5 separate regions of the Homo sapiens genome follow, and regions 1, 2, 3 and 5 are each linked to region 4. Evidence: promoter capture Hi-C in 16 types of primary human blood cells and fetal thymus (Javierre and others, 2016). All regions are on one chromosome and are shown on one strand. Each heading gives the region's core, a stretch centred on a gene start or on the middle of the fragment in contact. The rest is flanking DNA. Distances are from core to core; before and after follow the strand shown.

What was found. Contacts are between HindIII fragments. The CHiCAGO score rates a contact against its expected background, and 5 or more counts as called.
Region 1: a fragment that was not itself captured here is called in contact with the fragment with the promoter of EML6 in region 4 in 1 of 17 cell types (naive CD8 T cells); the score reaches 5.8 in naive CD8 T cells.
Region 2: a fragment that was not itself captured here is called in contact with the fragment with the promoter of EML6 in region 4 in 1 of 17 cell types (endothelial precursors); the score reaches 5.3 in endothelial precursors.
Region 3: a contact is called between a fragment that was not itself captured here and the fragment with the promoter of EML6 in region 4, in 1 of 17 cell types (fetal thymus). The highest score is 5.6, in fetal thymus.
Region 5: a fragment that was not itself captured here is called in contact with the fragment with the promoter of EML6 in region 4 in 1 of 17 cell types (fetal thymus); the score reaches 5.4 in fetal thymus.

What each region holds. Positions count from the first base shown.
Region 1 is chr2:53,988,371-53,993,141 of GRCh38, reverse strand. It overlaps a transcript of ACYP2 not described here. Among named protein-coding and RNA genes, the nearest start is that of PSME4, 20 kb to the right of the region's middle. The HindIII fragment of the contact is 187 bases long and covers 1,840-2,026 here.
Region 2 is chr2:54,161,346-54,165,832 of GRCh38, reverse strand. All of the region lies in intron 3 of ACYP2 (acylphosphatase 2), which reads right to left. Among named protein-coding and RNA genes, the nearest start is that of ACYP2, 48 kb to the right of the region's middle. The HindIII fragment of the contact is 3,078 bases long and covers 1,618-4,487 here.
Region 3 is chr2:53,968,722-53,973,392 of GRCh38, reverse strand. It overlaps PSME4 (proteasome activator subunit 4), which reads left to right and starts at 2,400. Exons shown (of 47, transcript NM_014614.3): 1 at 2,400-2,850. The coding sequence starts at 2,609. It also overlaps a transcript of ACYP2 not described here. RefSeq lists enhancers at 1,882-1,931, 2,227-2,521, 2,788-3,552 and silencers at 2,132-2,521, 2,396-2,557, 2,532-2,731. The HindIII fragment of the contact is 6,659 bases long and covers 1-4,671 here.
Region 4 is chr2:54,721,971-54,726,479 of GRCh38, reverse strand. EML6 (EMAP like 6) reads right to left here and starts at 2,818. Exons shown (of 42, transcript NM_001039753.4): 1 at 2,703-2,818; 2 at 1,222-1,931. The coding sequence starts at 1,418. RefSeq lists silencers at 1,615-1,764, 2,436-2,925 and an enhancer at 3,066-3,285. The HindIII fragment of the contact is 5,681 bases long and covers 1-3,355 here.
Region 5 is chr2:55,266,419-55,271,148 of GRCh38, reverse strand. It overlaps MTIF2 (mitochondrial translational initiation factor 2), which reads left to right and starts at 1,918. Exons shown (of 16, transcript NM_002453.3): 1 at 1,918-1,980; 2 at 2,410-2,571; 3 at 3,514-3,580. RefSeq lists enhancers at 1,057-1,880, 1,826-1,975. The HindIII fragment of the contact is 855 bases long and covers 2,519-3,373 here.

The sequences.
Region 1 (4,771 bases), core at 684-3,183, 730 kb after region 4:
CTCTGCCTCCTGGGTTCAAGCGATTCTCGTGCCTCAGCCTGCCAAGTATCTGGGACTATAAGCATGTGCCACCACACCTGGCTAATTTTTGTATTTTGGGTAGAAACAGGGTTTCACCATGTTGGTCAGGCTGGTCTCGAACTCCTGGATTCAAGTGATCCGTCTGCCTTGACCTCCCAAAGTGCTGGGATTACAGGTGTGAGTGAGCCACCATGGCTGGCCATAAAACCTTTTTTCTGATGCGTATTCTCTTTAAGTTACTTCTCCTTCTTTTGCTTCCCGTCACTGGAAAACTTTTTTTTTTTTTTTTTGAGATGGAGTTTCACTATGTCGCCTAGGCTGGAGTACAGTGGTGTGGTCTCAGCTCGCTGCAACCTCAGCCTCCTGGTTTGAAGTGATTATCCTGCCACAGCCTCCCAAGTAGCTCGGACTACAGGTGCACACCACCATGCCCAGCTAATTTTTGTATTTTTAGTAGAGACGGGGTTTCACCATGTTGGCCAGGCTGTTCTCAAACTCCTGACCTCAGGTGATCTGCCCACCTTAGCCTCCCAAAGTGCTGGGATTACAGGCGTGAGCCACCGCACCCGACCTCCAAAATATTTCTCATCTCTGAGTACTTCTCACCGTTGGCACTACTTCTACCGTGATACAAGCCATTGTCATCTCTCATTGAATTGCTGAAAACGCCTCCTAATTAGTCACAGTACTTTCATTCTTATCCCCTTATAATCTATAGTCCATTCAGAGTCAGGAGAGATCTTTTGAAAGTTTAAATCAATTTATATCATTTTCCTGATTAAAAACTTGTCTATAGGTTTCCATTGCACTTAGAGTAAATTTAAGTGCTTGGTTCACTCACTAGGTTAAAATTAAAAGTAAGTGCTTACTATGACACTGGTGAAAAGAAGGAAGGAAGGAAGGAGAAAGAAGAAAGGAAGGAAGGAAGGAGAAAGAAGGAAGGAAGAAAAAAAGTAGGAAGGAAGGAAAGAAAGAAAGGAAGGAAGAAAGAAGGAAGAAAGGGAGAGAGGGAGGGAGGGAAGGAGGAAGGAAGGAAGGAAGGAAGGGGAAAAAAGGAAGGAAAGAGGGAGGGAAGGAGGGAGGAAGGAAGGAGGGAAAGAGGGGCAAGAGCTCTTACATTGTGAAAAAGCTTGGCTTGATCAAGAAATTGAAAGAAGCTGGGTGTGGTGTCATGTGCCTGTAGTCTTAGCTACTTGGGAGGCTTGGCAGGAGGATTGCTTTAGGCCAAGAGCTCGAGTCTGCAGTACCCTATGAGCGCACTTGTGAATAGCCACTACACTCCATCTTGTACAACATACTTAGCCCTCATCGCTAAATAAAAATAAATAAATATAAAAAACTTAAAAAAAATTGAGAGAAGGTCGGAGTGCCTGGAGCAGGGTGAATGAGGTAAAATCAATATATGAGATGAAATACGGCCAGGCACAGTGGCTCACACCTGTAACCCCAACACTTTGGGAGACTGAGGCAGGTGGATCACCTGAGGTCGGGAGTTCGACACCAACCTGACCAACATGGAGAAACCCTGTCTCTACTAAAAATACAAAATTATCCAGGTGTGGTGGCGCATGCCTGTAATCCCAGCTACTCAGGAGGCTGAAGCAGGAGAATCACTTGAACCTAGGAGGCAGAGGTTGCAGTGAGCCAAGATCGCACCACTGCACTCCAACCTGGGCGAAAGAGTGAAATTCCATCTCAAAAAAAAAAAAAGAAAAAAAAGTTACACATACACCAGCCATTCTATGCCTAGGTATGTATCCAAGAGAAAAGTAGTTATATGTCCATACAATGACTTATACATGAATATTTATTGAAGCTTTATTTGTAATACCCAGAAACTGGGAACAACCAAAACGTCCATTAACAGATGAATGGATAAGCAAACTATGGTATGTTCATAGAATGCTACTCAGCAACATTTGAGAGAAAATTATAAAATCACAACATCTGATGATGACCAGCAGCATACCTTTGAACACTTGACCAGCAGCATCACCTGGAAGCTTGTTAGAAACACAAATTCTCGACAGGGCACGGTGGCTCACGCCTGTAATCCCAGCACTTTGGGAGTCCCAGGCGGGCGGATCACAAGGTCAGGAGATCTAGACTATCCTGGCTAACACAGTGAAACCCCGTCTCTACTGAAAATATAAAAAATTAGCCGGGCGTGGTGGCGGGCACCTGTAATCACAGCTACTCGGGAGGCTGAGGCAGGAGAATGGCGTGAACCCAGGAAGCGGAGCTGGCAGTGAGCCGAGATCGCGCCACCGCACTCCAGCCTGGGCGACAGAGCGAGACTCTGCCTTAAAAAACAAAAAACAAAACAAAAAAAAAACGCAAATTCTTAGGTCATCTGCAGACCTACTGAATCAGAAACTCTGACAGTAGAAGCTCTCTCAACCACTGCTTTATGCTAATTTGCTGAAAGTGAGGATTCTTTTTCTTTTTTTTTCTTTTTTTTTTTTTTTGGTAAGACGGAGTTTTGCTCTTGTCTCCCAGGCTGGAGTGCAATGGTGCCATCTCGGCTCGCTGCAAACTGCACCTCCCGGGTTCAACAGATTCTCCTGCCTCAGCCTCCCAAGTAGCTGGGATTACAGGTGGCCGCCACCACGCCCAGCTAATTTTTGTATATTTAGTATATTTGGGGTTTCACCATGTTGGCCAGGCTGGTCTCAAATTCCTGACCTCAGGTGATCCACCTGCCTCAGCCTCCCAAGGTGGTGGGATTACAGGCATGAGCCACAGCTCCCAGCTAGGATTCTTGATATATCAACTATCTTGCTTGTTAGAAGTGAACTCTGGCTAAATTAAATAGAAGATGAATTTACTGAAAAGTGTTATATGCCAGGAGTGGTGGCTCATGCCTGTAATCACAACACTTTGAGAGGCCGAGGCGGGTAAGTCACTTGAGGTCAGGAGTTCAAAACCAGCCTGACCAACATGGTGAAACCTTGCCTCTACTAAAAATACAAAAATTAGCCAGGTGTAGTGGTGCATGCCTGTAGACCCAGCTACTCCGGAGGCTGAGGCAGGAGAATTGCTTGAACCCAGGAGGTAGAGGTTGCAGTGAGCCGAGATCACACCATTGCACTCAGCCTGGGCAACAGAGCAAGACTCCATCTCAAAAAAAAAAAAAAAAGAAAAGAAAAGAAAAGGGTTTATGTAACTCACAGAAGTGATGAGAAATGATGAAAACATTCTCAAACAATTGGCTGGGACCAAGGGAGTAGGAGTGGCAGGAACAGTCTGGTGGAGATGCTGCTGCCACCACCAACATAGGACATCTCTAGTATTTGACATAATGGCCACTGTAGGCAGCCACTACTCACAATAAACACAGCCTCAATGCCAAACTGCTAATACTAGAGCTACCACAGATCCAATATCACTTATCATCCCTTCATCTTGGCATTGCTTACTCAAGACACAAAGTACATAGTGGCTAAATCTGGGTCACAAGGCTGTCAGGGGAGTTAGTAGAGGGTGAATCTCATCCCTTAGGCTTCTAAAGTTAGAGGTCAGAGCCTACTTCCCACCAAGACCTAGATAATGGGAGATGTCCCGAATCTAGCAAGTGGGTTCAGATGCTGGGCAGCCAAAAGCAATTACAGATGTCCATTATGATAAGTACCCTAAATACACACATTAGGTGCATTTTAGCAGGACTATGCCCTAAAAGAACTGGGCAAATATATTCTTTGTTTTACTAATATCTGACTCAAGATTTGTCAGGCAGGGCATGGTGGCTCATGCCTATAATCCTAGCACTTTGGAAGGCCGAGGCAGGAAGATTGCTTGAGCCTGGGAATCCTTGTCTGTGAAAAAAAAAAAAAAAAAAAAAAAGAATTGTCTACCAATCTGACTTTTTGTTATTGAAAGATATGTCTTCTTATTTAAGTATTGGCTCACAGTAGATCACAATAGTCGATGGTGCCAGCAGGCACATGCTGGCCTGATAGCCTTTCCACTGCATGTTAGAGTAACGATGAGAAGAAATGACTGGGTTTGGAATATTCCTACTGGGACTGGACTCTTGGTGGCCTTCAGATGGTGTTATTTAAAACTGAATTACAGGCCGGGCGTGGTGGCTCACGCCTGTAATCCCAGCACTTTGGGAGGCCGAGGCAGAAGTTCACCTGAGGTCAGGAGTTGAAGACCAGCCTGGCCAACATGGCAAAAACCCGTCTCTACTAAAAATGCAATAAAAATAGGTGGGCATGGTAGCGCGCACCTGTAATCCCAGCTGCTAAGGAGCCTAAGGCAGGGAAAATCGCATGAACCCGGGAGGCAGAGGTTGCAGTGACCCAAGATCATGCCACTGCACTCCAGCCCAGGTGACAGAGTGAGACTCTGTCTCAAAAAAACAAAACAAAACAAAACAAAAATTGAATTATGGGCCAGGCATGGTGGCTTACACCTGTAATCCCAGCACCATGGGAGGCTGAGACAGGCAGATTGCTTGAGCCCAGGAGCTCAATGCCAGCCTGGGCAACATGGCAAAACCCTGTCTCTACAAAATACACACATATATATTTATATACATATACATATATATAGCCAGGCATGGTGGCACATGCCTGTGGTCCCAGCTTCTCGGGAGGCTGAGGCAAGAGGATCACTTGAACCTGGGAGGTGGAGGTTGCAATAAGCTGAGATCGTGCCACTGCACTCCAGCCTGGGTGACAGAGCAAGACCCTGTCTAAAAATAATAATAAATAAAAAATAAAAGTGAATTACTTGGGACATTCAT
Region 2 (4,487 bases), core at 1,907-4,406, 560 kb after region 4:
TCCTTAGATTTCCGCCAGAAGATTCCTTCATCCAGAGTCCAAGATGCACTGACTTTCCCTTGGGGCAGGGGTAGGGAAGAAACTAACAGGAAGACTGGTTTGCTCTCCTGGCACCCAGTCTCCTCTCCAGTCTAAGGCACCAATGATCAGGTCAGATCAGCTCTGTGAACCATCTTAACATGGATGGGGCATCATATAGTATTGCCTTCAAGTGTACTTTCCTTTGCCTCAAGTCTTAGAAGACTTTGGTTGTCTCTAATGTGTGTGTGTGTGTGTGTGTGTGTGTGTGTGTGTGTGAGAGAGAGAGAGAGAGAGAGTGAAAGAGAGAGAGACAGAGAGAGACAGACACACACACAGAGAAAGAGAGAGACAGACAGACAGACAGACCAGATGACCTCTCAGGTCCCTTCTAGATCTAAAATTTTAAGACAATTGTTCTGAAAGTACTAACTAACAATGAATGGCCAGCTTTGGAATTTGTGACTAGCAGTATTCAAAACATATTCATGATTGCAGGAAATAAGGCAGAGGACCCTAAAAGGAGATACAAAACCAAAAAGGTAAATGTGAGTGAAATAATATATCAACTTCAAATCGTTAGCAAGGTAATGCCACTGAAATCAACTAGTCTATACAGTGTCTCCAAGATGGTTAGTTAGAAAATAAGGCTGTTTCACTACTTGCAATAGCAAAGACATGGAACCAACCCAAATGCCCATCAATAAGAGACTGGATAAAAAAAAATATAGCACATATACACCATTGAATACTATACAGCCATAAAAAGGAATGAGTTCATGTCCTTTGCAGGGACATGGATGAAGCTGGAAGCCATCATTCTCAGCAAACTAACACAGGAACAGAAAACTAAACATCCCAAGTTCTCACTCATAAGCGGGAGCTGAACAATGAGAACACATGACACAGGGAGGGGAACATCACACACCCAGGCCTGTCACGGGGGTGAGGGGCAAGAGGAGGGAGAGCATTAGGACAAATACCTAATGGCTGTGGGGCTTAAAAACTAGATGATAAGTTGATAGGTGCAGCAAACCACCATGGCACATGTATACCTATCTAAGAAACCTGCACGTTCTGCACATGTATCCCAGAACTAAAAACAAAAACATAACAAAACAAAAAAACGCTGTTTGCCACAAGAGGCACCTCAAAAGGACAAATGTGGTCCCAAACACCCCTGGTTTCCATTCATATGAATTAATTTTTCTTAACTTCTCATTAATCTGTTTATATTTTCAGTTTATATTGTCCCTTTGCCAGTTCTCTTCCTTACTGTATTTCCTGCAGTCTTCTCTCTTCCCTATGTACCCAGTGCCGGTGCCTACCAACAAGTGTTTCAGCCTCCAGTCTGTCATTTGAATTCATCCTGAATATTCCATTAATGACTCCTCCTAAATCATCATTATGATTGGGTCACCCTGCCCCCAGCTGAAAGCATTCTTCAATGATTCCTTGGTGCACAAGGGACTAAGTCAAAACTCAAAAGCCTGGCAGTTAAATCCTCACCTATCTGGCTCCTAGACAAGAAGTTAAGATTCATGTCATCTGAACTTCTCCCCAGTTCCTGTGTGCATCCATGATTCACTCCTAGAAGCTTCACCCTGACCCATGCCATCTCTCTTCCATGGAGCATTCCCCCACCTTCCCTCTCCTCTGAATGTCTAAGTTCTATACATGCTCCAAAGCCCTAATCAGATCCCTCTTTCAGCCTTACCAGCCATTAGCTATCCTTTGGTCTTCCGAAATTCTACCACGCTTCTTTACCATTTGACAGAATACTCCCTATTTTGGTAATTAACTTTCACAGGCATAAGTTTTATTGCCTCAGCTAGACTGTTATCTCCTCAAGGTCAAGGACTTTATCCTTTTTAAAAAAATTTCCTAAAGTGCCTAGCACAATGCTCCCCACGGCAGATGCTCAGTAAATAATAAGTGAATGATAACTTTTTTTTTTTGAGACAGAGTTTTGCTCTTGGTGGCCAGGCTGGAGTGCAATGGTGCAATCTCGGCCCACTGCGACCTCTGTCTCCTGGGTTCAAGCGATTCTCCTGCCTCAGCCTCCCTAGTAGCTGACATTACAGGCATCCACCAACACACCTGGCTAATTTTTTGTATTTTTAGTAGTGGCGGGGTTTCACCACATTGGCCAGGCTGGTCTCAAACTCCTGCCCTTGGGTGAGCCACCCCCCTAGGCCTCCCAAAGTGCTGGGATTACGGGCGTGAGCCACCGCCCCCAGCCGATAACAAACATTTATGAACCACTTCTTTTTGTCTGAAATTATTTTGTCTGAAAACTTCTTCAAACTTCAGGACTTTCTCTCTGACTTCATAATGCTATGAATGAGTCTCAGTTTTTTAAATAATGTAATTTTCAAGGGTGTCCACTGCTGATTATAACAGAGGGTCTCAGAGACAGATCCTGGCAAACAATACCCTCTTGTAGCATTTAATATGATTGAGTCACTTACAATTAGACAAGAAAGCATTACATTCTATAAATTGTCTCTTCCCACTGTGATTGAAAAGGAAAAACTGACTTTAGGTATACTAAATCAAAAGCATATACACATAAATCACAGATAACTCACATGCAGGCATGGTTATGGCCTTACTATGTGCTATTTGGCCTCACCACTCAAAATGTGATCCGGGGACAAGCAAAATCCATACTGTTTGGGAGTTTGTTAGAGGCAGAATATCAGGCTCCACCTCAAACTTACTGAATGAAAATTATTCCTTTTAACAAAAGCCCTGGGTGATTTGAAAAGCACTGGACAAATCCAAAACGAGCAAAAGTGACTGTACAGAGTAATTTTTCTTTTTCTTTTCTGAGACAGGGTCTCACTCTGGCTCCAGACTGGGGTGCGGTGATCACGATTCACCGCAGCCTTGACTTCTCAGGCTCAAGCAATCCTCCCACCTTAGTCTCCTAAGCAGCTGGGACCACAGGTGTGCATCACAACGCCCGGCTAACTTTCTGATTTTTTGTTGTTGTTGTTTTTGTTGTTGTTGAGATGGGCATCTCCCTATGTTGCCCAGGCTGGTCTCCAACTCCTGGGCTCAAACAATCTTCCCCCTCTGGCCTCCAAAAGTGCTGGGATTATGGGGGTGAGCCACCATGCCTGGCCTGTACAGGAGGAAATTTTTTTATGTAGGTTCCGGTGAGTACAGGATTTTTATCCTTTCAAAACAGCCTTTCAAAACAGATTGTTGGGCCCCATCCCCAGGGTTTCTGATTCAGTACGTCTAGGGTGGGAGCCGAGAATCTGCATTTCTAACAAACTTCCAGGTGATATCCATGGTGCTGCTGCTGGCCTAGGAACCACACCACAGGCTTATACCATTAAAAACAACAGGCCTCATATTTTGGGAATTTTGCTCCAAGTGCACTTCCAATAGAAGAGAGAATACTGAGCTAGTAAAACGGAAAAGAAAAAGAAGCAGCAGCAAAATGTTTCATTTATGTTACAAGAAGGTAGCTGTTAACACTCCTTTGTACACAGTGGGGTAAAAATAGCTGAAGGAATTACTATAGCAACAGCTATAATATCCTCAGAGACTTTCTCTCCTGGCATTATTCATAAAGGGAGGTCCATCTTACACAAATTCTATTACAACTTTGAGACCTATTACAAACAATAAACATGGGAAACTTATCCCATTCGTTAAATACTGTGAGATAAAATACAACTTTAAGATGCATTTGAGAAATGACTCTCTGAGGCCTGAATTTGGATTTGGTCCAGCAATTGAACAATAACAAAAAAAAGTAAGAATCTATATGGTTGTGAAACAACAAGAAAAGGAGAGCTGAGAAATGTTGAGAATACTTATTATAAAATTTTTAATGTTTTTAAAAAAATCCCAAAATAGCTGCTTCTTTTAAAACAAAGACTTACCAAATTATAAATAAAAGAATATATAAAAACCAAAGAGCTCCATCTAGAGTTTGAAAAAAGGGTTATTACTTATACACACAAATAACAAAGCACTCTCTACCCTATTGTATCTATATTCTTTTCATTATTGTTAAAAATACGTATTCTTACAAAATATTTACAAAAAGGATAACTTTTTAAAGTGTGTAATACTGTTCATGTAAAAGAGAACTGACTTTTTCATAATGTCTGTAACCTATTTTTCTTCTAAAAATTTGGCAGTTGTATTTGTCACCGTGAATGATTATCTTCAGGCAAATCATTAAAAAGTTAGGATAGAACATGTATACCTACTATGTAGCCACAAAAGTTTTTAATATAATTTAAAAATTAAAAAGTTGGGATAGTGTTTAAGGCATTCATGGAGATGACAGCTTATGAAATTGATTCAAGGACCCAGTTCTTACCTGAGCTTGCTATACGCCCTTGAGTAACTCCTCTTTGAATCCTGAGTTTTCCCATCAATAGGGGTTAGATAAGACCAATGGTACTCAGACCTGGCTGCTCATTGGAAACACTTGAGATCAT
Region 3 (4,671 bases), core at 894-3,393, 750 kb after region 4:
TACATGCAGGTCACTGGGGATATGATGGCTTAGCTTGGGCTCAGAGGCCTGACACTCATCTCTTTCCGGCTCTCCCTACCCCATTATTTTTTAAAAGGTTGTCCATATTTGCTGCCTCTATTTATTCACTTCCCATTTGTCCTTTGTCACCATAATCAGATTTCTATTCTACACTCCAACGACACTGTTCTTATGCGCTTTATCAATAAACTATCCAATAAACCCTTTCAGGTTTCACTTCATTTGACCTGTTAGCTACCTAAGGTAGGATTGTTCGCTTCTCCATGAGACACCCAGTTTCCTAGAACTCCTCCTCTCTCTGCTTTTTGTGAATATTCTTTGTGGCCTACCTTCCTTTTCTCTGTCTGTCCTTAAATGTGGGGCTCCTCAGAGATTTGTGAAGGGCCCTATTTTTTCATACTGTATATTTCCTTCCCTCCTGTCGTCCATCTACACGCTAATCTGCATCTCAGTTTAGATCACCCTCCTGATACATATGTCAACATACCCATCCCATAGGCATTCTGCCTCCCAAGCTGTTTCTGCTGTGTTCTTTATCTCAGTGAAGGACTTCACCTATCTACCCAGCGTCGTCTTGTCTCTTTCCTTTTTAATTTTTCACTTTCAGTCAACTACTAAGCCCAAGCCATTCTGCTGAAGTAGCTCTCAATTTCAACTGACATCCAGGCCATGATTATGTCACACCTTAAAGGGTCCTCCAGTTCCCAATCTTGTCAGTTCCAACCCATTTTCCAGACGAAGCCAGAGTGACTCTTTTTTTTTTTTGAGACGGAGTCTCGCTCTGCCACCCAGGCTGGAGTGCTGTGGCACGATCTCGGCTCACTGCAAGCTCCATCTCCCGGATTCACGCCATTCTCCTGCCTCAGCCTCCCGAGTAGCTGGGACTACAGGCGCCCGCCACCATGCCCGGCTAATTTTTTTGTATTTTTAGTAGAGACGGGGTTTCACCATGTTAGCCAGGATGGTCTCCATCTCCTGACCCCGTGATCCACCCGCCTCGGCCTCCCAAAGTGCTGGGATTACAGGCGTGAGCCACCACGCGCCTGGCCCTTTTATTTTTTGAGACGGAGTTTCGCTCTTGTTGCCCAGGCTGGAGTGCCCTGGCGCGATCTTGGCTCACTGCAACCTCCGCCTTCCGGTTTCAAGCGATTCTCCTGCCTCAGCCTCCCGAGTAGCTGGGATTACAGGCGTCCGCCACCACGCCCGGCTAACTTTTTTGTATTTTTAGTAGAGACGGGGTTTCACCATGTTGGCCAGACTGGTCTCGAACTCCTGACCTCGTGATCCGCCCGCCTCGGCCTCCCAAAGTGCTGGGATTACAGGCGTGAGCCACTGCGCCCGGCCGCCAGAGTAATTCTTAAAAAATGTAAATTATATCATCCCACTGCTATGCTTAAAATCTTTTGGAAGTTTGTCTCTAGGATAAAGCTCTGAATTCCTTAGGATTGCCTTCTCAGTCTCATTTCTCCGTCCCCTCTCTTACGCTATTTTGAACTTTGAATTTTTAGAATACATGCTTGCAGCGTCAAAGCTGTTCTCTCAGCTGAAATACGTGTCCTCCTCCCTCCTTTTTCTAACCAACTTTGCACTCAACCTTCATAGCTTAAATTAAGTATCACTTCTAGGAAAATGACACCCTCTCAAACCCCCTAGTTTCAACTTCTTTGTAGAGTTCCTAAGGATTCTTGTACTTATCTAGCAATTAAGAGCATTATCTTGTAATTCACGTCTTTATCTCTGCTAGACTAAGTCCTTGGGAGGGCGGAAACCAGGTTAAACTTTCTATCTCAATAGCCTAAACTGAGCGCCTTACACACAAAACAGCTGTTCAAATAGCATTTGTTCAGCGAGTAACTATTTTCTTCTTTGGAATGATGGCGGCCAGAATACCAGAAAGATGGGGACTTAAAGGGGACAGAAAAATTAAATCTATAAGGAACAAGCGGGATGGAGTAAATAAATCTATAAGGAGCAAGTGGGTACGTAGGCTTTTCCATAAACCCCTCTAACCCAGAAGCCGGGGCTGCTCGGCTAGGGGGACCAGGCCGACCTGGCTGCCGCCTGTCGTGGCGACTGGGACTCCAGTGGGCTGCCGCTTGGAGTGCGCGACCCCCGGCGAAGCAGGACAATAGCTTGGAATTCGGCCTCGTGTTTCCGGTGAGGCAGCCTCGCGCTGGGCCGGTGAGGCCTGGGGTGGGGGCTCCGAGCCGGGCCCACGGCGAAGAAGGCGCAGCCCGTTGGGCTCCAGCTGCCGCCACCACCGCCTCCCCCGACGCCGTCGCTCCGCCCCGCCCCGCCCCGGAAGTGACTTGAGGCCGGTCCGGAACCTCTGGGCCCGGCGGCTGCAGCGTCACCAGCAGAGCCGGTGCGGGGCGGGCAGAGCGGCCGCTGCCGCCGCCAACGAACTGAGAGCCGCGTGGGGCCCAGCAGCACGCCGGCCAGGGAAGGGGGCCTAGCGATCGGTCCGAGGGCGACGGGCCGCCAGCGGCCGCAGGGCGACGAAGACGCGGAGGAGGCGGAGCCCGGAGAGGGGTGGGGGCCGGGGAGGGTTCGGGTGGGAGGGGGTGGGGGGGGTGTCCCTGGGCTCATGGAGCCGGCCGAGCGGGCGGGAGTCGGAGAGCCCCCGGAGCCGGGCGGGCGTCCCGAGCCGGGCCCGCGGGGCTTCGTCCCGCAGAAGGAGATCGTCTACAACAAGCTGCTGCCCTACGCGGAGCGGCTAGACGCCGAGTCCGACTTGCAGCTGGCCCAGATCAAATGCAACCTGGGCCGGGCCGTGCAGCTCCAAGAGCTGTGGCCCGGGGGCCTCTTCTGGACCAGGAAACTCTCCACGTAAGTGTGCCCGGGCCTGCGGGCCGGGCCGGGGGGAAAGGCTCAGTGAGAGGTGTCGGGGATGGTTGCTCTTTGTCCAGAGGGCTGGACCCTTAGCTCTGTCCTCGCTGGAGCTGTCCCCGAGCGGTGATCCCAGGGTCGTGACAGAGCCTGTGAAGTACTCAAGCCGTCCTCCCTGCCACTTTCCTACGGGACTTCCCGGGTCTTTACCATCCCTCTACGTCCTCCGCATCTGCTTCTCCCGAAGTGTTCGGGTTGTTGTCTTCCCACCTGGGGGGCCCTGGGTAGCCCAAGGGCCCCGGCCCCGAGGGAGAGAGGTGAGCCTTTCTCAAGGGTCCTCCGTGGACTTTTGCGCATGGGAGAGGCGGGGCAAAGAGAATTTGTCTTTGGGGGAGTTCCTTGACTTGTCTCCTTGCTTCCTCCGGTTCTTCCTTCCCCTACGATCCCCGCCTCTTCGCATCTCCGTTGGCGTCTAGTAACTTTCTGAATGGAGAGAAGACCATAGGGAAACTTAAGGGTTTTGCTTTTTGGGGGCCCTCTCAGACCTGGCGGAGTTGATCGAAAAGGGTCGTTTAAAGTCAGACCTCATTCTTGAGCTTAACGTCTTATGTGGACAGTGTTGTTTTGGATTGTGTGTTGCTCCTGTTGTGACATTTCTTTTGGAGAGACATTTAAGATACTGAGGAAAGTAGGGAAGAGCACTGTCAGGATGTCCAGGGCGATATTAGTATCAGGCTTGTGTTAATTTTTTGAGTTACTCAGATTAAGAGATTACCTAAATCAGTTTCAGGAGTTCTGTTTGTAAACTAGCTTCAAACTATAGTGTCACTGAAATTAGGAAAAAAAAAAAAAAAACGAGTGAAAATACAGTGGGGGAAAAAAGGTTACATTTACTTGCTGGATGGGCATCTTTACTGTGTCCGAAGAGCTTTTTAAGAAAGAATTTTGCTGTATCTTGTTTGGTTAACTGTACATAAAATCTAGTAACATGGTATGTTCACGCATGTGGGTATGGACGGGTGAACACACAAGACATAACTCACTCATTCAGTGTTTACCCAAAGCTGCTGATTGAACTGAGTGATGACTCAGGGTTTTGTAATAGTTTTGTGTATATTCACTGGATGATTCTCATCTGCCAATTATTAAGGGGCCTCTGACAAATTTCTCATTTCCACTTGAGGGGTGGGTGGGACCTTTTTAATTAAAAAGAAGCAAAACTAAAACATGTAATTTGCCCTCTTCAGAGAGTGATCATAAAATGTCAAGGTTAACAGCTCTCCCCTTGACTAGAGTATAATGAAGTTTTTCGTGTTAGGATCCTTAGGAGAATGGAGGTGAGGGGCGGCAGAAGCAGGAATGCAACAGGGAGAACCACGTTTAGTCAAAAAAGAATATTTTATAAATAGTTAAAATCCAAATGCTTTTTCAAGTGAGACTCCTAGGTTTTTGTGTTGCTCAGGCACAGTAAAAATAGTCACTTTGTTACAGTAATTCCCCATTTTAATCACTTGGATTAGACTTGCCAGAGAATACCTACCATTTTTGGGGACGCAAACAGCTTTTTTTAGTGTACATTATATAAATATGCCATGGTGTGAAGGCATATCTGCTTTGGATTTATAAACCTAGAATCTACCAAGGCATAGTTAAGCATTGTTTTCTAAAGTATTTATTGTTAACAAGTTTGGTAAATTAGCACTCCGAGTTTTGTTATTGTTTTGGCTTATTAGATAAAAGTTTGTACCTAGAAAGGGCTAAAAATAACAATGGAGCTAATGTTTGGTGTTTAGGGCTGGATTGCAGATAGCTGATGGCTTA
Region 4 (4,509 bases), core at 1,569-4,068:
CAATTTTTCAACTTTAGGTCTCAGAAAAAAAAAAGGCTCTGGAATATAAGCACATCATTAGGAAGGGAAAAAAAAGCTGATCTTTGAAATCATTCTCTGCACTGAGAAATTAGGAGCATGGACATGACATCACTTCATTTATTTCATTGTGAAAGACAAACTTAGAGCAAAAGTGGCAATATTCTGAGAATGTAATGGTAGTTGTTCTACATCAATGAAACACACAAGTTTGGAAGGTATAAATATGGTCTCTGTCAGTTGTAGTCCATCCTCAGCAAGTCATTTTCCCTGTGGGCTGAGGCTCCCATATGACGAAAATCTTCCTTAACTGCTGAAGGCTGAAAAGGATTCCCTGTGAACAGCATCTGGCCCATACCTTGTTTGCTCACATAAAAGCTGACAAGGGCTGGAGGAAAATGTGTCTGGTCCAAAGATGAGAGGATAGGGCCAAGAATCACAATATAACCCCTTTCCATTTAATCGGGAGGGCCCCTAAAACGGCCATTCATCCAAATGAGCTCTCCTGTCAGTCAGTCTTGGGCCATCCGCTAGCAGATGTTGGTCATTGTGTGGGCTGGCTGGTAGGATTTTGTGATCCAGCAGCTGCCAGCCTTTAATAACCTCAATGATGCTGTGGAAGCATCCATTTAGTGTATAAATATGCTTTGGGCATTAAAACACTGCCAAGTGAAATATTAGAGAACAAACTCCCCACCCACTGCAGAAATTTCCCAGGTCCAAAGCATCTGAGATGAAGATTCCAAATTACCAGTAGTAAAATTTCTTTTAGATCTTTTTTAATCCTCTTGCTTACTGAGAAACCCACTGAGGAGCCTCCCAAAGATGATGCCCACACTTCAGGTTATTGGTCCTACCGTGCACCTGGTTAGGGAAGGAAGAAGTGTTTCATAGTTACCCAGGCTCCTTCCACTTGTAGCAGGAAAGAACAGCAAGAAAGCATCAGAACACTCAACTCCTTGGAGATTTAAAAGCCAGAATTCCGGAGGGATACAGCGAAAAGACATCTCTCCCTCCTCACCTACACTCCCCACACTGTTTCTGCCCTGGCCCTAGAATCAGCAGCCCTTCAGTAATTCCATGCGGCTCCAGAGAGAATCCTCTATTCCACGGGGCTCCCGGATCCGACCCCAGGTCAACCGCTTCCCACCTTCCCAGCCTCCACACGCAACCCCTCCCCGCCGCCCCTGGCCACCCCCTTACCTGATAATGTCGTCGTTGTGTCCCAGGAAGAATTTTTGGCTGTGCTCGCGGGTGTTGTAAACCACCCCGACCCCAGCCACAAAGTAGACCACCTCCTTGCCTGCCGTGTAGTACAGGTTGTTGCGGCACTGGTGACCCCGGTACCCGTACACCCACTCCAGCCGGAGCTGGCAGCGGGGCGCCGTCCGATCCGCCATGATAAGCCGACCCCGCGCGCCCCCCGCCCCCCCGCGCGCCGGGGCCGTCCTCGCCGAGGCTGGGGCTGCGGCGGACCTGCAGGGGCTCAGCGCGCGGCGCAGGGCGCTGATTTCCGCGGCGACACACAGGCACAGCCCAGCGGGCCGGCCGCCACCATCATCCGCTGCAGCCGCCGCAGACAAGCCGCCGCCGCCGGTGTGCGGCCGCCAGACCCCGCCGGGCGCCGGGCTCCCTCTACCCGGGCAAGGCGGCTCTGGGGGCGCCGGCACCGGCGCGCGCGCCTCACTGCACCTGCGGGCTCCGGCCCCCGGGAGAGGCTCTCGGGGGGGCCACCCCGCCTTTTACATCAGGAATCTGCATATCCCAACAGCGATCACCCAGTTCGCTCACTGAAGTTTGCGGTGCGCCGGGGCTTCGCGGCAGGCGGCGGGATTTATTCTGCGATAGCCTTGATTTGACAGGCAACCCGGGTGAGCTCTGCCATCGCCGTCTTTGGATCCGAAATTGACAGTCTATATCCAGGAAGCGAGAGCGAGGAAGAAAGAAACAGATTTTTCGCATAAGTCACCCAATCCAAGAAAATTATCCCCAAACTAAACCAAGTTGGGTATTTTTAAAAATTGTCCCCTACTCCCGCTTTCTCTCTCCAGTTCCATCTCCTTAATGATATGAAATATGCGTAAATGCTGCTGCCTGGCAGTTGCTGATGCGATTTGAAGGAACGCTTGCTGTTTCCCTAATAAGCGAGGGCGAATATGCAATGGTCATTTTTTAGATGCTCCAATTAGTTTTCATGTGTGTGTTTAATAATCATATCCTCCGTGAACCTTCTCTTCACCGAGAAAGCCATAAAGAACTTAGCAGCTCTCATTGATCAGCAACTCCAATCCGCATCATGAAAGATTGTCTTACTCGGAAGAAACGAGGCACTAGTGCAGTCGGAGGGAGTGCGCTACCTACAAACGCTCCTGGTCGAGGAGAAATCAAATAACAAGTGGCAAAAATCGTGTACTTCTCCCCAGAAACCTCTGCGCTAAACACCGGGTCCCACGGAATCCCGGGTCCTGCCCTGAGCCCAGCGTGGAGAGGGGTCGCCCGAGGGACCCGGGGGACAGCAACCCCCCACAGACGCACACGTCCCGGGGGTCGGCGCGCTGCGCGAGGGATGCCCGCCCTCAGGACTGTTCGGCCCGCGCGCACTGCCGCCCTGGCGGCGCCCTGCACTCCTCCCACTCTCGAACCAGCCTCGCCCGCGGAGCATCCGCGCGCTCTCTGCCTCTAACCTCTGCTGCCAGCGGACGCCACCGGCGCGTCCCGGATCCCGCGCGGGCGAGCGAGCGAAATCCTCTGCCTGCCCTCCCCTCCCCGCCTCCCGCACCCGGGGATGGACTTCGTCACTGGGGCGCCGCGGGAGACAGGTTCTTCCTCCAGCCGGGGCTCCGGGGGCGGGGCCACAACGCCGCGCTAGTGAACCTCAGCTGCCGGTTACTAGGCGAGATCTCGCCGCTTGGAAACAGCGACGCCCCGGAGGACTGGGGCCGCCCCCTCCCTCTGCCTGTCCCTGTGGCCTCTTCCCCCGACGCATCCTGGGAAGTGTAGTCCTCTCTGCGCCGGTTAGGGCGGACAGCGCGCGGAAGGGACCACAAGTCCCAGGATTCCGCGCGCCCAGAGGGAGTCGCAGCGAGACCTGTACCGGCGTCAGCGGAGCCTGCGGCTCTCGGGGTGAGGAGATCCCGGCTCACCAAGGACGATTGCCTGCCCACGCGGGCGTTCCCTTGTGACTGAGGCGGGAGCTGGCGTGCGTGGGTCTCTGTAGAGAAAAGCGGTGGAGTTGGAATGGAGACGGTCTCCCAGCCCACCACTGGAATTTCTCCTTCATCGGTCTCTGAGTGTTGCTGTAACCGACATCCTCACCATGCTGTAACTGACTCAAGCTTAAGTTTGTTTCCTACTTAAGTTTTCCTTTTCATTCACATGGATTTTAATTTGTTAAAGTGCAGTTCTGCCAAGTTTAAGAAAAATGCTGGGAATGTGAGCTCACTTCTGCCCTAAGAACCAGCGTCTTCCCATGACCTGCGTCCTAAATTAGAGGACTTGGGTATTTACAGATAACCGGAGGTTGGAAGCAGGAAGGTGCTCACGCCATGAACAGCTAACCTTGGCCTTCAAACGCAGAAGCTGGTGGCATTTCTCCTAAAACTGCCCGAGATGAACTATGAATCCACTGTGTTCTCAAGTAGCCTATTTCCAATTTAGGGCCATAGCTAGTCTTTGGAAAGAGATTTCAAAATCCCAGTGACTAAGAGGCTGCAAAAGGATGATGGATTGGACGTTTGGAACGTCCTTTCCCTCCCATGCTTTCAGTGTAATCGCTTACTCAGTTCATCTCCCTCAAGTTTTAAGACAACCCTCCGACCTGGTAGGAAAGCTCGAAAGAACTGGAAGTGCCAGAGTTTGGATGATTTGTTGCTGCCCGCAGTAATGAGGATTTGAATTGGTCTCATCTTTGTTTTTAAGGAAACAGAATCAACAAATAAGTGAGATGGCACTGTGCTAGGCAACAAGAACACTGCCAAAAACAAAAACACGGCCTGAGAAAGGTTTGAGATAGAAGCAAAAATATAGTTGATCAATGATGTCGTGCCATAAAACAGTGCCAAATGAATTATATAAAGACAGTAAGTTTTTGTTGTTCTTTTTGTTTTGTTTTGTTTTGAGACAAAACAGGCCGTTGCCCAGGCTAGAATATCGTGATCTTGGCTCACTGCAACCTCCGCCTCCTGGGTTCAAACGATTATCCTGCCTCAGCCTCCTGTGTAGCTGGGATTACAGATACGCACCACCACGCCCAGCTAATTTTTGTATTTTTAGTAGAGACAGGGTTTCGCCCTGTTGGCCAGGCTGGTCTCCAACTCCCGACCTCAGGTGTTCTGCCCGCCTCGGCTTCCCAAATTGCTGGGATTACAGGCATGAGCCACTGTGCCTGGCCAGTAAGTTCTATATAAGAATTCAGAAGAGGAAGAGTTTTTCCAGATAAAATACATCAGGAAAAGTTTCATGGAGGAACTAGGAAATATAGATAGAATTGAG
Region 5 (4,730 bases), core at 1,697-4,196, 540 kb before region 4:
GGCCAGGCAGAGCCAGGCCTGGTTTTGGGCCTGGCGCCGGACTGCCTGTCTTTGATTTCACTTCTTTTTTCTCTCTTAAAACAGGTACTGAGTATAAAACAATATAAAACAATATGAGAGGGTCTCTCTCTTCCCTCAATGGCAAGTATGCTTTTGAGTAATGAACTTCTGTACCATACCAATTACCCAGGGGAGTGGTAGATCTTAAAGACAAAGATTAATTGATTGATTTTGTTTTCTTCTCAAATTCCTTTTACCAAAAGACAGAGATAATAAAACAATATTTATATTTGAGAGGTGGTGATGGTTGTGGTCAAAACGACCAGCTGAAAGTCATAATGTCCAAGCAAGATGAGGGAAAGCTCTGGGGGCAGGCAGTAATAACCATAACAGCAAACACATACTATGAACCAGGCACTACTTATCAACAGTTTATCAACCCATTAAAAGCTTATTGCAGCCGGGCGTGGTGGCTCATGCCTGTAATCCCAGCACTTTGGGAGGCTTAGGTGGGCAGTCACCTGAGGTCAGGAGTTCGAGACCAGCTTGGCCAACATGGTGAATTAGTGAGGCATGGTGATGTGCCCCTGTAATCTCAGCTACGCGGGAGGCTGAGGCGGGAGAATCACTTGAACCCAGGAAGCGGAGTTTGGTTGCAATGAGCCGAGATCGCGCCATTGTGCTCCAGCTTGGGCGACAGAGTGACACTGTCTCAAAAAAAACAAAAAACAGTCTGGGAGAGGTGGCTAACGCCTGTCATCCCAGCACTTTGGGAGGCCGATGTGGGCGGATCATCTGAAATAGGGAATTCGAGACCAGCCTGACCAACATGGAAAAACCCTGTCTCTACAAGAAACACAAAATTAGCCAGGAGTGGTGGCACATGCCTGTAATCCCAGCTACTCGGGAGGCTGAGGCAGGAGAATCGCTTGAACCCGGGAGGCAGAGGTTGCGGTGAGCTGAGATCGTGCCATTGCACTCCGGCCTGGGCAACAAGAGCGAAACTCCATCTCAAAAACAAATAGAAACAAAAACACAACAAAAACCTTATTACAATCCTGTGAACTAGCTACTGTCATTACTATAATGTAGATGAACAAACTGGGACATGGACAGTTGACAAAACATTCCCAACCACACACTAGGAATGAGCTGGGATAGGAAACCAGGCACTCTGGCTCTATTACTCCTAATGCCATACACACGAGCTGACTTAGGAGAAAACAGAAAGTACTGTTCGCACAATACTAACTGGTTCTACCGCCACTGTTCGCTTGCATTTGTTTTTTCCTTCTTGTTAGGAACACGTATCTTTGAAGGAGGTATCATTTCTCCCACAATTCTCCATTTAACGTTTCCTACAGTGTTAAGCACCACCGAGGCCTCTCATAGCCCCAGAGAAGAAGTAATTTGCTTCCTAGAAATCCTCACTGTATCCAGATTCCCTCCCAGAGGAGCCATCAGTTCTCATGGGTGGCACTTTTTCTCCAGCTGATTACACTTTTTTTCTGTACCAGTTAATTTTTCCAACTTCTAATTGAATAAAGGCAGTTTTCTTAAAAAAAAAAAAAAGAGAAAGAAAAACGGAAAGGAAGGAAGAGGAAAGGAAGGAAGAAATGAAGAAAGGAAGGAAGGAAAGAAAGGAGAGGGACAGAAAGAAAAAAAGGAAAGAGAGAAAGAAAGGAAAGGAAAGTAAGAAATGGAAGGGACCTGCAGAAACGATTCACCACGCGCGGCTGACCCTGGGAGGAGCCACAGGTTGAACCAGCGCCTCCCAGGCTGGACGCCCGCCGCGGACACCGCAGACAGTCCCACCCCCAGCGGCGACAGCAACTCTCTGAATTCCGGAAAGAACCTTTTCCAGCGGGACCGGAAGCCCGGCGGGGACCGTAGCGGGGACGGACTGACCTACCGACCATTCTTCCGGGTCCAGAAGGTGATCTCCGCCCGTGCTCAGAATCCAGGGGCCCGGGGCTGTAGGTAGGAGTTAAGTGGGTAGGATCCCTTAACCAGGGTTGTCCGGTGCAGGTGGTGTGTGTTGTTTCGCCTAACGTGTCAGTGGCACAAATCACGCGAACTTCATAAACATTGTGCGTTCGGAAGCCTTTCCAAGATGCATTTAATCCCTGCGTGAGCCCACGTTAGGCATTCACGAAGGCATGTGCACTGTTCTCTCGGAAGCGGCTGGCCGGCTTCCCCTCCTCGCGCGCGGCTGTGGGTGCAGGTCCTCACTTCCCAGCCTCCCATGGGCCCAAGGCCTTCTGGGCTCCAATTTGAGGCGAGCCACCCCAGATCCGTAATTTTTCTGCAGTGATTTATTTTTACCTTTCTGGTAAGTTCCAAAGCTTCCAGCTCACATTCAGACGTTTTCCCTAACGCAACTACGTATTTGCAACATACTTTTTTCAGATTCCTTGACAAGGATATCCTAGCGGCGAAACAACACCGTACTGGGAGTCAGAACGTCTGGGTTCTAGTCTTGACTGCCATTAACTAGCGGTATGACATTGGAGAAGCTTTTTTGACCCTTCTGGATTTCCGTTTCCTTTTCTGTAAAATGAGGAGCTTGGAGTAAGTGACAAGTTTCCTTCCAGTTTTGACATTTGGGTTATTGCCTCCAATGTGTCTTTCCAGTTCCTGCCTCAATTACATATCTGTGCTTTGGTTAATATCTCGTAGGGTCCTTCCTCCCACTCCATTAATCTGTGCTCTTCTCAAATCTGGTTTCATACTGATTTAAAAATTATTTTCTCAAGGAATCCTGTGTTACCTGAGCACTCTACTTCTTGGTCCAGGGGCACAAACGTAAATAAGATATTTTCCATGTGCCATTCTTAGAAGTATTTAATGTGTGTAAATACTATTGAATGAATTTCCAAATCTTCTTTTTTTTTTCTTTAGACAGAGTCTCACTGTCGCCCAGGCTGGAGTGCAGTGGCCTGATCTCGGCTCACTGCAGTCTCTGCCTCCTGGGTTCAAGCGATTCTCCTGCCTCAGCCTCCCAAGTCGCTGGGATTACAGGCGCCCGCCACCGTACCCGGCTAATTTTTGTACTTTTAGTAGAGAGGGGGTTTCACCATGTTGGCCAGGCTGGTCTCGAACTCCTGACCTCAGGTGATCCGCCCGCCTCGACCTCCCAAAGTGCTAGGATTACAGGCATGAGCCATCACGCCCAGCCTGAATTTCTAAATCTTAATGTGTTTATTTCGTTGGCATTAAGTTAGATTTTTCCTTGATCTTTACTCGAATAAGCCTTTTAAGGTAAAATGCTTGCTCGATTACACACACATACACAACCTCATAATTGTCCGAAGGTAAACAAGTTAATGACTTGTGAATATTTTTAACTTATAAGCAATGAATCCTCAAAGCTTATAAGCGAGTATCAAGACATGTGATATGGTTTTAAAATAGCTGATGATAAAGTATATACATCATCTCATTTTCTCCTCTTAGTCTTGTAATAGGAAGGACAGATATTCAAACACTTATTTATTTATTTATTTTTAACAGAGATCCGGAAAATGAGGCCCATAGGAAACAAGTGACTTGCTGAGTCCAGATAACACTGACTGTCAGAGTGAGTGTCCACCTAAGGTTCCTTTGTTGCCTAATAAGATACTTTCTTTGCTATACTGTACTTGTTTCTGTTATCATTTCTTTTCTTTCTTTTAAAAAATATTCAGTATAGGCCAGGCGCGGTGGCTCACGCCTGTAATCCCAGCACTTTGGGAGGCCAAGGCGGATAGATCACCTGAGGTCAGGAGTTCAAGACCAGCCTGGCCAACACGGTGAAACCCCGTCTCTACTAAAAATACAAAATAATTAGCCGGGTGTGCTGGCAGGCACCTGTAATCCCAGCGACTTGGGAGGCTGAGGCAGGAGAATCCCCTGAACCCAGCAGGTGGAGGTTGTAGTGAGCCAAGATCACGCCATTGCACTCCAGCCTGAGCGATGAGCAAAACTCCATCTCAAAAAAAAAAATTCAGTATATTCTATTTACCATGTCAGAACCATACATTTACTATGTCAGAACCATAAAATACACTTTGGGAAGATTGGTTGAAATGTAACATTTAGGCTAGGCGTGGTGGCTCACGCCTGTAATCCCAGCACTTTGGGAGGCTGAGACAGGTGGATCACCTGAGGTCAGGAGTTTGAGACTAGCCTGGCCAACATGGTAAAACCCGGTGTCTACTAAAAATACAAAAATTAGCCTGACACGGTGGCACACACCTGTAGTTCAAGCTACTTGGGAGGCTAAGGCTGGAGAAAATTGCTTGAACCCAGGAGGCAGAGGTTGCAGTGGGCTGAGATCACACCACTGAACTCCACCCTGGGCAACAGAGCGAGACTCCATCTGAAAAAAAAAAAAAAAAAAAAAAGAATGAAATGTAGCATTTAATGCCTAGTTATCTAGCAAAGATCACCCGTCCAGAGCCTTAATTTCTTTGGTCACATCAAATAACTATTATCATTTGTGAACAATTTTAAAGACTATCTAGTAGAAAATATAAATATATTTATATAATATATATGTTGTATATAAATATAAAATATAAGCATATTGTAGAAATGCCATATTATGAGATAAATCATTAAAAAAAAATTTTTTTTTTTTTTGAGACAGAGTCTCGCTCTGTCTCCCCGGCTGGAGTGCAGTGGCGTGATCTTGGCTCACTGCAACCTCTGTCTCCCGGGTTCAAGAAATTCTCCTGCCTCAGCCTCCC